3 separate regions of the Homo sapiens genome follow, and regions 1 and 2 are each linked to region 3. The links are contacts of gene promoters, found by promoter capture Hi-C in human tissues and cell types (Jung and others, 2019). All regions are on one chromosome and are shown on one strand. Each heading gives the region's core, a stretch centred on a gene start or on the middle of the fragment in contact. The rest is flanking DNA. Distances are from core to core; before and after follow the strand shown.

What was found. Contacts are between HindIII fragments. The study calls those that stand out against the background at their distance.
Region 1: a contact is called between a fragment that was not itself captured here and the fragment with the promoter of FAM171A1 in region 3, in 1 of the 25 tissues and cell types used here (liver).
Region 2: a contact is called between a fragment that was not itself captured here and the fragment with the promoter of FAM171A1 in region 3, in 1 of the 25 tissues and cell types used here (bladder).

Annotation. Positions count from the first base shown.
Region 1 is chr10:14,996,229-15,000,894 of GRCh38, forward strand. It overlaps the pseudogene OR7E26P. Among named protein-coding and RNA genes, the nearest start is that of MEIG1, 39 kb to the left of the region's middle. The HindIII fragment of the contact is 6,058 bases long and covers 1-4,666 here.
Region 2 is chr10:15,107,933-15,112,457 of GRCh38, forward strand. It overlaps NMT2 (N-myristoyltransferase 2), which reads right to left. Exons shown (of 12, transcript NM_004808.3): 11 at 1,770-1,907; 12 at 1-1,283. The coding sequence ends at 1,263. LOC105376431 (a long non-coding RNA gene) reads left to right here and starts at 3,596. Exons shown (of 2, transcript XR_930693.4): 1 at 3,596-3,854. The HindIII fragment of the contact is 4,782 bases long and covers 856-4,525 here.
Region 3 is chr10:15,368,416-15,373,476 of GRCh38, forward strand. It overlaps FAM171A1 (family with sequence similarity 171 member A1), which reads right to left and starts at 2,874. Exons shown (of 8, transcript NM_001010924.2): 1 at 2,541-2,874. The coding sequence starts at 2,637. RefSeq lists silencers at 2,631-2,860, 2,871-2,920. The HindIII fragment of the contact is 11,349 bases long and covers 1-5,061 here.

The DNA.
Region 1 (4,666 bases), core at 1,722-4,221, 370 kb before region 3:
TGGATCTTCATATCCAGGGTTGGAGTGGGGGATGATTTTACTCCCCGAATCGCGTGGGCTCCCGCCCCCATGAGTCGTGGATCGTAATATCCACGGGGGATGGGCGGGTGATATTACTCCCCGCATCGCTGGTCGCCCGCGCCCCTGCGATGTGGCTCGGAATATCTAGGCGGAGAGTGGGGTGCGATATTACTCCCCGCATCTCGGTGGCCCACCGCCCTCCTGCGATGTGGATCGTAATATCCAGCGGGGAGAGCGGGGTGATATTACTCCCTGATTTTTCCTGGGATCCTTTCTATGCTGCCACCCTCGGTTCACTCCCTGGGACATTATCTTCCATATTCTAGCAAGATGCGGCTGATAAAGTCGCAGGGGTATACACCCTTCAATATTATTCGTAATTTTGTAGGGGAATGTTAGACCTGATGTCACAGGACTCTGTACACTGTGATGTTATTCCCAATATTCTAGCTTTACCTTAATCATAATGTCACATTGTGTGTACACCTTGTGGTGTTATTCTTATTCTCCTAAAGGGAGGTTGCATTTATTGTCACACGGGGTATGTTCCTTTTGATATTATCCATAATGTCCTAGAGGGATGTCACCCCTTATGTCACAGGGTTTGTACGCCTTGTCCAATTACTCTTATTATCCTCATAAGATGTCACTCCTCATATCACAGAGGGTGTACACTCTGTGATATTTTTGTCATATTCTAGGGAAATGTTACTTTTAATGTCACAGAGGGTGCACACCTTGTGAAACTATTCTTTATAATTTTGTGGGGTGTTACCCCTAACGTCACACGGCGTGTTCACACAGTGATGCTACGTGCAATATGCTATGGAAATGCTGCTCGTAATTCACAGGTCCTGTACACCCTTTCATATTCTTCGTAATCTAGGAAAACGTTACTGCTAATGTCACAGGGCGTGTAGATCCTGTTATCAAATTCCTAATATCCTAGCGGGAGTTCACTACTCATTTCTCAATGCGTGTACACCCTTTGATATTATTCATATTGTCTTGAAGAGATGTTACTACTGATGTCCCAATGCGGGTACATTCTCTGATCTTATTCGTTATATCCTCGGGGGATGTTACTTCTAATGTCACACGGGGTGTACTCCCTGTGTTCTATTTCATAATATCCTAGGGCAATTTGACTTTTAATGACACATGGGGTGTACACATTGTGATATTATTTGTGATATTCTAGAAAGATATTACTCCTAATGTCACAGGGCTGTACAGCCTGTGATAGTATTCATAATTTCCCAGGGGTCTATACTCCTATTGGCACAGACGATAACACCCTGTGACATTATTTGTAATATTCTAGCGAGATGATACTCCTCATGTCACAGGTGGTGTACACCCCGTGTTAGTATTCTTACTATTCTAGGGGGATGTTACTCCTAACATCACAGGGAGGTACACCCTGTGATATTACTCATAGTGTACCAGAGGGATATTAGCACTCATGTCACGATGCATGTACACTTTGTTATATTATTTGTCATATCCTAATGTCACAGGAGGTGTGTTCTGTGTGATATTCTTCCTAACATCCTAGACGGATGTTGCTCCTAACGTCACAGGGTGTGTACATCTTGTCAAATCATTCACAATATCCTAAAACTATGTTATTCCTCAGGTCACAGGGGGTGTTCACCCTGTGATATTTTTCATCATAGCTTTGTGGGATGTTACTCCTAAAGTCACATGGGGTGTACACAGAGTCACACAGTGATATGAGTTGTAACATTCTATAGACATGTTACTCGTAAATCACAGGGGCTGTACCTCCTTTGATATTATTCATAGTATTCTAGGGGAATGTTGATACTATTGTCACGGAGGTGTACACCCTGTGATGTGACTCGTCATCCCAGCGGGATGTTACTACTAATGTCACAATGCCTGTACACCCTGTGATACTATTTGTAATATCCTAAAGAGATGTTACTACTAAGGTCACAGTGCATGTACACCCTCTGATATTATTCGTTATATCCTTTGGGGGTGTTACTCCTCATGTCACATGGGGTGTACTCCCTGTCATATTATTCGTAATATCCAAGGGGGATGTTATTTTTAATGTCACCGGGGGTGACATTACGCATTAAAAATGCGTATTCAACCCCAGTGATACTATTCCTAATATCCTAGGGGCATGCTCTTCCGAATGTCACATGGGGTGTACACCATGTGTGTACACCTGCTGTGATATTATTCGTAATATCCTAGGGAATTGTTACTCCTGATGACACAGGTGGTGTACACCTTGTGTGTACCCCTCCTGTTTTATTATTCATAATATCCTAGGGGGATGTTTCTTTTAATGTCACAAAGAGTGTACAAAACGTCACAGGAGGTGTACACGTTGTGGCGTGATCTGCAATACCCTAGAAGAATGTTACTCCTAATAAGTCACAGGCTTGTACAAGCTTTGATGTTATTTATAATCTCATAGAGAGATATTACTTCAAATATCACAGTGGATGTACACACATAGTGTATACCCTGTGACAGTATTCATAATATCCTAGGGAGATACAACTCCTGATATCACAGTGCGTGTACCCCTGGTGTGTACACCCTTGATGTTAGTCGTAATATCCAGGGTAAATATTACTCCTCATATCACACAGTGTGCACACCCTGTGATATTTTTCATCGTACTTTAGGGAGATATTGCTTCTAATATCACAGTGGGTGTACCCCATGTGTGTATACTCTGTGACAGTATATTCTATATCCTAGGGAGGTATTACTCCTAATATCACAGTGGGTGTTCACCCTGTGACTTCATTCTTATTTGACCTTGCTGCCTTTTTTAACCCACACTACAAAAGGAATGGAACAAATAAGAAGATATTGAGATGAGATCGTGCTGCCATGTGGCCGCTGCAGGACACTTTTCATATCCCTGTTTCTCAGGCTGTAGATGAAGGGGTTCGGCATGGGGATGACCACCGTGTACATCACTGAGGCCACTGCAGCCTTTCTCGGGGAAGATGACACATCTGAACCGAGGTAGCCTCCAATGCCTGTTCCATAAAATCAGCAAACAACTGACAGGTGAGACCCACAGGTGGAGAAGGCCTTATACTTCCCACCTGATGATGAAACCCTTAGAATGGAGAAAACAATTTTATTGTAAGAGAAAAGGGTCCCCGAGATGGGAAGAAAACCAAATATGGCGGCAGGGAAATACATGATTATGTTATTGGTGAAGGTGCCACAATATGCAAGATGGGGAGTTGAGAAGGGTCACAGAAGAAATTAGGAATTTCCACATCCTTGAAGCAGGTCCTTTGTAAGGCAATCAAGTTGTGCAGCTGGGCGTCTAAAAGACTGAGAAAAAAAAAAGACAACAAAACTAGAAAGCCACAGAAACATGGGTTCATGATGGCTGAATGATATAGAGGGTGACAGATGGCTACAAACCGCTCATAGGCTATCACACTCAGGAGCATGTCTCTCTTCCATGCCTCCAAAAATGGCAAAGAGAGACATCTGAGTCAGGCAGCCTGCGTAGGAGATGACTCTGCTGTGAGACTGGATGTCCACAATCATCTTGGGGACCGTGGTGGAGGTGAAACCGATGTCAGGCAGGGACAGGTTGGAGAGGAAGAAGTACATGGGGATGTGGAGGTGGGAGTCAGGGCTGACGGCCAGGATGATGAGCAGGTTCCCCAGCACCGTGACCAGGCACATGGACAGGCACAGCCCAGTGAGGACCGGCTGCCATTCTGGATCCTCTGAGCTTCTAGGAGGAGGAATATAGAGACATCTGTTAGATTCTGTGGGTCTGTAGAGATTGGACAACTTTTGCCTAGAAAAGAGGGTTGAGAAATCGGAAACAAGTAAACCGACACCCAGCATCGTGTCTGCATTTTGGATAGAAGCAATTCACAAGTCATGTTTTCAGATTTCAGAGCAATCCACACTCAGCAATAGTTTGCACTTCTGACAATCTCAATTGTCTTCTAATGCTTTCATCATTGATTTCTGTGTGATTCACTTCTTGTTGTACACACCTGCCTCAGAGACACTAGATTCAAGAATGTTCCAAGAACGAGATCATCCTATATAACAAATTCGTCATTGCTAGAAAATACAGCCTATCTTTACCGACGGAAACTATGTAATCAAACCATTCTCTTCACTTTAAGAAAAAGGTTATCCTAATTAAAGGAAATTAAGAACTCAAATATTTTATTTTATTCGAATAGACTGATACAAATTCCCTTGATTTAGAACATCTGTAAACACCGTATAACTGCTGAGACCATGCCATCTGGAAATGAAATTAAAGTTGATAGTTCATAAGCAGAGAATAGTTCCACAGGCCGGTTGGATCCTATTGATTTCATCATTCTGTTTTCTGACTTTTCACCTTCAAGAGAGGAATTGCTTCCTCAAATCTGTGGGTCTTGTTTTAAAATTCATGGAAGCTGTAACTCCTGTCCTTAGCTTTGGTGGACTTAGCGTTTTCATCAGAACGTTTGGCCGGACGCGGTGGCTCACGCCTGTGATCCCAGCACTTTGGGAGGCCGAGGAGGGCGGATCACGAGGTCAGGAGATCAAGACCATCCGGGCCAACATGGTGAAACCCCGCCTCTACTGAAAATACAAAAACTTCGCCCAGCATGGC
Region 2 (4,525 bases), core at 1,997-4,496, 260 kb before region 3:
GACATTTTCCATTAGCATGACACATGACAGTTTTCATGATAAAATCAGCATAGAGGAGTATGTGCAATTTTGCATAAGTAATAAAAACATTCAAACTATCAATGCCCTGATAGCACGAATAAGTTCCACCAGGCATCTCTTTTGACTTTACAGTTTTTTATTTCCTTTTCTTCATATATCCTTGATGTTGCTGAGAAGAAACTGAACTTTGCACAACAGCAGAAAAGTCTAGTTAGTCGCGGGTACAGGCTCTTTCTTTTTTTTTTTTTTTGAGACGGAGTCTCACGCTCTGTCACCCAGGCTGGAGTGCAGTGGCTCGATCTCGGCTCACTGCAACCTCACCTCTCAGGTTCAAGCGATTCTCCTGCCTCAGCCTCCCAAGCAGCTGGGACTACAGGCACACGCCACCACGCCCGGCTAATTTTTGTATTTTTAGTAGAGATGGGGTTTCACTATGTTGGCCAGAATGGTCTCGATCTCCTGACCTCATGATCTGCCCACCTTGGCCTCCCAAAGTGCTGGGATTACAGGCGTGAGCCACCACGCCCGGCCTCAGGCTCTTTCAGAGAGCACAGTGAGTGCTTGCACAAAACTCTGCTTTTGAAGCAATCCACTGACCTGGTAAAGATCAAAGTACAAACTTGCATGTTTATTGATTCGGCAACTCTGCTTATGGAGAAATACATGTACTAGTCACCAGTACATTTTAATATTGCTCTGCACTTAAACAACCACCACCTGTCACTGAGCTACAGAAGTGTTGATTCCATAAATGTTCCCAGTGATACCATGTAAGGTGATACCAGTAAAAAAAATTTCCAAATGGATCTTTTGTTCTGTTACATGGACAAATGTACCATCACTTAAGAAACAGAAATGCAGCAATTTCTCTCCACACAATAGCAAAGATTTTCTTACATGACTCTGTAACTTCTACTTAGTCCATAGAAAAACAGTCCCTTTTCTAAGGGTGAAAAAATACCTCTTCAAGAGACAGGCAAAAATTTGAAAATTACAAGAATGTGCTCTTTGTAGCCTTTCATCCCTCCCACAAATAGGTCAACAGTAAAAAAAGGATGAAGTTTAACATTCTAGCTAGAAACGTACAAATGTCACATGTGGACTTTTGTCATCTTTTCTGATTATCGACTACTTCAATTTCACTTGAGTTGTGCTTTTATTCTTCTTTGGAATGGCAGTTCCAGAAATCATTAAATATTAACAAATGATGATGTCAGAGTTCTAGAAATAAAAATATCCATCTATTGTAGTACTAGTCCAACCTGAAGGGAGGGAAGAAATGGAATAGTAAGAAAAATTAGATTGCAATGTAGTACAATAGATCTGTCTTTCTAAAAGCTGTCTTAAGGCTCAGCTCACACCTGTAATCCCGGCACTTTGGGAGGCCAAGGCAGGCGGATCACCTGAGGTCAGGAGTTTGAGACCAGCCTGGCCAACATGGTCAAACCCCATCTCTACTAAAAATGAAAAAATTAGCCAGGCATGGTGGTGGATGTAATCCCAGCTACTCGGGAGGCTGAGGCAGGAGAATCACTTGAACCTGGGAGGCGGAGGTTGCAGTGAGCTGAGATCATGCCATTGCACTCCAGCCTGGGGGACAGAGCGAGACTTCATCTCAAAAAAATAAATAAATAAATAAATAAAATGAACAAAAATAAAATAAAGCTGTCTTAAGTCTAAGTGAAGCAAGTATGAAATTGTCTAGGTACATTTGTTGAGTTTACAAGGGCTATATCCATTTCACTTACCTTTTCAGAATCTGTACCTGGACACCTCCAATTGTACAGGTAATACTGCAAATTGCCATCTCCTATACCAAACTTGAGTTTTTCCAAGAATGTCTTATTTTCCATCAAATCCAGTGCATTGAATACATCAAATCCTTTCTGCCAATTTAAAAAAGATTTAAAATTTAAAACAAAGGACTAGTGTTTTCTGTATTACATATCTCAGTTTAACAATTCTACTAATAGCTCGAATATGCATTTCTAATAGGATTTAACGTCCGTGATATATAGCATAGGTTAAGAATTCAGGGCCGGATGCTGTGGCTCATGCCTATAATCCCAGCACTTTGGTAGGCTGAGGTGGGTGGATCACTTGAGGTCAGGAGTTCGAGACCAGCCTGACCAACATGGCGAAACCCCATCTCTACTAAAAATAACAAAAATAAGCCAGATGTGGTGGCGCACACCTGCAGTCCCAGCTACTCAGGAGGCTGAGGCAGGAGAACTGCTTGAGCCTGGGAGGTAGAGGTGGCAGTGAGCCGAGATTGTGCCACGGCACTCCAGCCTGAGCGACAGAGTGAGACTTTTTTTTTTTCTTTCTTTAAAAAGAGGAAGAATTCAGTTGAAAATTGTCTTATAAAACTAGCAGTGTGGCTGGATGTGGTGGCTCACGCCTGTAATCCCAGCACTTTGGGAGGCCAAGGTGGGAGGCTCACTGGAGCCCAGGAATTTGAAACCAGCCTGGGCATAGGCTGTAGGTATAGGTGTAGGTGTAGGTACAGGACATTGTCTCTACAAAAATAAAAAGATTGACTCGGCATGGTGGTGTGTGCCTGTGGACCCAGCTACACAGGAGGCTGAGGCAGGATTGCATAAGCCGAAGAGGTCGAGGCTGCAGTGAGCTGTGATTGTGCCAGTGCACTTAAACCTGAGCAACAGAGTGAGCGCCTGTCTCAAAAAACAAACAAACTATAGTGAATCCAATGAAGTCAGCATGAAAATTCAGAAACGCTGAATCCCAAAAATGTTAAAAATGTAGTATGATGGCTGTCACTGGCATAAAATTACTTATGAAGATTTCAGAAAATATTTTATTTATGTTTTATTTATTTATTTTTAAATTTTTTTGAGATGGAGTCTCACTCTGTCATCCAGGCTGGAATACAGTGGCATGATGTCGGCTCACTGCAACCTCCACCTCCCAGATTTAAGCAATTCTCCTGCCTCAAACTTCCTAGTAGCTGGCATTACAGGTGTGCACCTCCATGCCCAGCTAATTTCTTTGTATTTTTAGTAGAGACCGGGTTTCACCGTGTTGGCCAGGCTGGTCTTGAACTCCGACCTCAAGTGATCCACCTGCCTTGGCCTTCCAAAGTGCTGGGATTACAGGCATGAGCCACTGCACCCAGCCTCGTTCTTGTTTTAGAAGGGAACAGTTGTCAAGATGGTTTCATCTCCAGGATTATTAATTATTAGCCTTTCTAAGTCCTACCTTGGCTGAAGCTATTGCCCAGGGACCAAAGTTGTAAAGACTTTAAATAGTATGCAGGCCGGGCGTGGTGGCTCACGCCTGTAATCCCCGCACTTTGGGAGGCCGCAGCAGGTGGATCACCTGAGGTCAGGAGTTCGAGACCAGCCGGGTCAATATGATGAAACCCTGTCTCTACTAAAAATACAAAAATTAGCCAGGTGTGGTGGCACACACCTATAGTCCCAGCTACTCTGGAGGCTGAGACAAGAGAATCACTTGAACATGGGAAGCAGAGGTTGCAGTGAGCCGAGACTGTGCCACTGCACTCCAGCCTGGGTAACACAGCAAGACTCATCTCAAAAAAAAAAAAAAAAAAAAAAGTATAAAAAAATAGTATGTTTGCTTTGGGCTGATAATGGGAAATATATTTATGTAAAATTTTAATGGTAAAAAATTAAATTTCTTTAAAATGTCAGACAATAATACTATGCAAAATGTGATATAGAAGAAGCACTTTTTATTTTTATTTCTCAGGGTTTTTACCTTAAATAACTAATTACTGGCCATATTTGGGAAGTGTTGAAAAAAAGCAGACAATCTGAGGATGATGTTGACTTGGGGATCCAAAGGCACAGGTAAGAGATTTTTATTTTATTTTATTTTAATTAATTAATTAATTTGAGACAGGGTCTCACTCTGTGGCCCAGGCTGGAATGCAATGGTGCAATCTCGGCTCACTGCAACCGCCAACTCCCAGGTTCAAGTAATCCTCTTGCCTCAGCCTCCCGAGTAGCTGGGATTACAGGTGTGTGCTATCACACCCTGCTAATTTTTGTATTTTTAGTAGAGACAGGGTTTCACCATGTAGACTGGCTACAATTAAATTTTGAATTTCATTCCTTTAATTTTAAAATTCAGAGACTATTTGGTTGAATAAAAAAATTGCTGCTAGTTATTCACTCAACAAAAATATTCACTCATGTATTAATATTTTCCTTATATTACTTCCTAAGATATGGGCTTTATATATATATATATATATATATATATATATATATATATATATTTTTTTTTTTTTTTTTTTTTTTTTTTTTTTTTTTGAGACAGTTTCTGTCACCCAGGCTGGAGTGCAGTGGTGCAATCTCAGCTCCATTGCAACCTCTGCCTCCCAGGTTCAAGCAATTCTCCTGCCTCAGCCTCCCGAGTAGCTGGGATTACAGGCACACACCACGAAGCCTGGCTAACTTTTGTATTTTTAGTAGAGACGAGGTTTCACCATATTAACCAGGCTGGTCTTAAACTCCTA
Region 3 (5,061 bases), core at 1,624-4,123:
AGGTCTCTAAGCAGTTTTACCAAAGTAATTGCCAAATCCTGTTGGTGCATAATATGTATGTGCAATGCTTGTTCAAAGAATGATTCAAACAACAGATTCTACATAAAAGCAAGATTCTTACAAATTAGCTTTTGGGGAAGGTAAACATTGAACTTTTCTTCTTAAAATGCAAGCCAATGATGATCACTAAAGGTTGCGTTATGGTGTAGGTATTAGCTATGGTTGATGCTTACCTACTCAGCACCATCTGAGCACCAACTGTATGCATAACAACCTACAACCCACTGTGGGAAATGCAAAGTGAAATCAGATGCAGCATTTGTCTTCATCGTGTACATGATCCAGGAAAGCAGAGAACACATGAATTTTAAAACTACGTCATACTACAGCAAGTGAACATTAAGATGCTTTGAAGAACTCAGTGAGTTGGGACTGACCTTCTAATGTCAAAGGAGAAATTGTCCATTCCCTTAAAAATGCTGCTAGCTCAAAATCCAAATGCCAGGTAGTGAGACCTGATTTCTGAAAGAGTTCCTGGGCTCAAGGCTTTAAAAAGCCATCCTTACAGTAGATAACAACAAAGGAAGTAATCCAAGGGGTAAACTATGCCAAGATACTTGATCTCCCACTCCAACCATACCCTAAACTAAGCCACTGCTAGCCATGGCAGAAACCTCTTCTCATGTTGACCATTTCCCTCCCATTTCGCATAATATTCCATTCCTGAGAGGCGGATTTTTAGCAGCAAGAGCTGGGTAAAACGTGGTCTTAGACCTAAACCTGTTATATATATATTGAATATATATATATATATATATTGAAGACATGCCTTCCTTTCTCTAATTCAGAAGTGCATGAATTTAATATTTCCATATATTGGTATTTCAAGTGCAAAAGGAAAAATTCAACTTGCTCTTTAAAATTAACGGCCTCGCTGAAGTGCAAATATCATTCTCTAAAATAGCTGATTCAAAAAAGCAGTAGGGTATTAATAAAAGAAGCTGCAATGCAACACTGATGATCTAATGTCCTAAACATTCGTTTCCTACACGAAGAGACATATAGGTCTTTTTGTATTTTGTAGCTGTCCGCTCTTCCATGATATGCATTACTAAAATTATACACAATTCATAACGGTCATATTCTACCATGGCCATAGAAGCAGCAATGCATTTAAGATATACCAGGAAATGATACTGCAAGTGCCAGAATATGAAAACCTTCAACTCAACATGTAGGCAACAAACTCAACCCAACAGAGTGTTGGCAGAGCCTTTCCTCCCCGTAGCAACATCGTGGTGGAAGCCCGGGCGTCTCTGCTCCCAGGCACCCTGAGCATGTTAGCCGAGGAAAGGGGGTTCCAGCAAGGAGACCCTCGGATGCAGCACTCCTCGTTTCTTTGGCCTGCAGGGCCAACTTTGCAGGACACACACCCTTCTGAGGGGACAGGCCTCGGGCTCGGAATCCCGGGGTTCTGCAGGGCTGCAGGGAGCTCCCTCGCAGAGACCTGAGCCCCCGGCAAGAGTCCAGGCAGCGGTGCCCTGGGTGAATGCAGAGGCTCATCTGCGGGCCTCAGTGGCCCTTTTGAAAACGCCAGCAACAGAGGAGTCCTCGACGCTGTCCCCACAAAAATGTGCCAAGCAAGCCTCAGGGTGGGTGTGGGGGACTCCCCTCAAAAAACGCTGATTTTAAAAACAAAAGACAGGCTCGTGGCCATTCTCAGAGGCGACCACGTTACTCCCAGGGCTGGAAAGCAGATTTGTGGAGGCCAAAGACGAGACAAAAGGCACGAGCTGGCGACAAACTGATCTGGAAAGGATTTTTCTTTTTTTTTTTTTTTTTTTTGGTGAGCGATGAGGGCCTCCCAGTTCAATTCTTTCTTCCCTTACAGAGAAGACTCATGGGCCGCTGAGCAAATCCCTTATGGTCTGGAAGAGACGTCAGATAGGCAGGGGGAGAGAACCCCCCAAACTTTCCCAAACTGCGGCAGGCTAGTGGCTAGTGGCGGCAGCGGACCTCGGGGCCCCGGGACACAGGGGGCACCCCGGGGCGTCAGCCACCCCCTCCCGCCACAACAAAAGGCCCCAGCGCAGCCCAGGAGCTGGGACTTCCCAGACCCGAGCCCGGCGTGGGGAGCCGGGAGCGCGATCGGGCGGCGCGCCCTGGGCGGCCCCTCTGTCCGCGGCGACATGGGAGACAGAGCCGCGTGTCCGAGGCGCGGCATAAAGGGGACCCCCGGGCGCATCCAGACGAGCCCCCGCCGCAGCGGCGACAGCAGCTGGAGCTGCCCGCGCCCCCGCCCGACCCAGCCCCCGATCCCCGGCCCCCGAAGCCTCCGCCCGGGTCACCCCGCGTCGCCGGCCCGCGCCGCCCCCTCGGGAGCGCGTTGCGGGTGCTGCAGGCCCGGAGGCTCCCGATGCGGCTCGGGCTGCGTCGCCACCACGCGGCCCGGGACCCTCCCGCCGCCGCCGCCGCCGCCGCCGCCTCCGCGCCAGGCCCGGCGCGACACAAAGCCCCCGGCCCCGCCGCCGCCCACTGACCTTGGGCTCCGGCGCCGGGCTCCCGCAGCGTCTTGGTCACCGCCTTCCAGACGTGGCAGCCCAGCAGGCACAGCAGCAGCGTCGCGGACCTGCTCATCTCCGCCGCGGGGCCGGCGGCGGCTCGGGCTCGCCGAGAGCGGGCCGGGCGGCGGCGCGTCACGGGCGGCCGGGCGCCGCGCCCCCCTCCATGTCGCTGGCTCCGCGCGCCGGGCCCGCCGCCCGATTGGCCCGGCCCCGCCGCCCCGGCCGCTCCCTCCCGCGCCCCGCGCCGGGTTTCCCCGAAGAGCCGCGGCGGCGGCGGCGGCGGCGGCTGCTGCTGCTCCGCCAGCTCCTTAACCCCTTCCTGCCTCGCCCGCCGCCGCCGCCGCTGCCCGCGCCCAGGCCCCGGGCCCGTGGTGCCACCTGGCGGCTGCGGCGCCGAGGGCGCCCCCGCCCGGCGCCGCTGCGTCGCGCCCCCAGCCCGACCCCCGGCGACACTGCCCCGGCGCGCCCCATCCCCGCAGCCCCGCAGAAGAGCCAGACCTGCCTTTCAGGGCGGAGCCCTTTTCATCACACCAGGTCACCCAAGGGGCCGCAGGAGACATTGTATCTGGGTGTGACCCCCCCACCAGGTGCCATCCTAATGTAGTTGTGTCCCCCAACGTAGATTTCACACCCAGTGTTAAAGATCCGCAAAAACACTCCCCAAGCCAGTATAGACTGCAGTAGGCCTGCAGTACCTACGTGTTGGCGGGTGGACAGCTTCAGGAGGAATGGTACTTGGATGGTTCTAGGGGTTAGGGTGGGGAGGAAATCCACATCTTTTGAGGCCCTAGGTGCTTTAAAACTTTCTGTCCTATTAAAGAAAAAAGACTATTCCATGACACGTGTGAAAGCACAGCAAAGAAGACCCTCTTTGGAACCATCGCAATAGGTATAAGCCCTACCATGGGATTCTGCAGTCGGGGAGAAAGGTTGGGTTCAACTCTGAATACAGCAGGAACAAGTGGGGATTTATAACCGAGGACCAGGGTGGGATGCAGGGAATGAAAAATTATAAGAGGAAACATCAGGGGGAAGGGGGATTCTTGAAAGTCAGACATCCCCTGGCAGGGCTGGGCAGGACAGGGCGGATGGGGAAGCTGATCAGATATCCAGGGTGGAGGGTTCTTGGTAAACTGACTTAGCAGGGTTCTTCCTGAAAGCAGATTTTACAAGGAAGGGCACAACTGAGCCTAGAAGAAGGTTCCGGAGCCTGACTGTAGTTCGGTCAAGCAGAGACTCTTTGTCCATCTTCACAATACATGATCTAAGAGGTAGTTAGCATTATCCCCCCCATTCACAGATGAGAAAAGAGGCTAAAGAGGGTTAAGGAATTTGTCCAAAAGTGCATACCTGGTCAGTGGCAGAGCCAAAATTCTAATAAAACAGTCAGTCTGACCCCAAAATTGAAACTCTTCACAAAAACCTCCAGACTTGGCTGGGTGTGATGGTTCATGCCTATAATCCCAACACTTTGGGAGGCTGAGGTAGGTGGATGGCCTGAGTTCAGGAGTTAAGAGACCAGCTGGGCCAACATGGTGAAACCCTGTCTCTACCAAAAATACAAAAAAATTAACCAGGCATAGTGGCCCATGCCTGTGGTCCCAACTACTCAGGAGGCTGAGGTGGGAGGATCGCTTGAACCTGGGAGTGGGGAGGTTGCAGTGAGCCAAGATCGTGCCACTGCACTCCAGCCTGGATGACAGACTGAGACCCCGTCTCAAAAAAAAAAAAAAAAAAAAATCAAAAAATAAAACCACCAAAAAAACCACACACAAAACAAAACCAAACCTCTAGACTTTCCTTGAGCCTAGGGACCCCCTCCATTCCAACCTCAACTTTTCTTTCTCTCAACCCACTCCTGTCGGTATGCCTTCCACACAACCTTCACCTCCACTTGTCCCTCTCCACCTTCTCTTCCAACTAGCACTGCGGTGACCTTCCGACTTCCACTGGGGACCTAGGAAAATCCACTCCAGACCCATCATCCACCCCACACTGCTTCCAGAACACCAGGCCAGAAGGAGGGTTATTACTGTAATTTCATTAATTGAGCATTTAGACATGGCAGGCACCGTACCAAAAAAAGAATGAAGGATGGCACTTGCCCAGTTGGCTTATAAAAGACAAATGACTGTGAGACATGAGAAAAACTAGGACGTACAGAAGCCCATATGGGTTTTATAGTCACCCTTAGGACCAATGCTGCAATTTGCGCAAATCACGCACCTGCACAGGGTGGCAGGTAGTCAGGAAGGCAGAAAGAAATAGGGACTGCTGGATTCCCTCCTTCTTCTGATTCCTGCATCTAAGCCTAATATATGGCATCAAAGTTCCTAATATATGGCACTCACTGAACTGGAGCTATTTCCTCATAACAACTTATTTGGTAGGTATCATTGTTTCCATTTCACAGATGAACAAACCGAGGCTTGGTGCCATTAAACAACTTGCCCACAATACAAAGATCTGATAAGTGTAAATTCCCTATACCATGTTA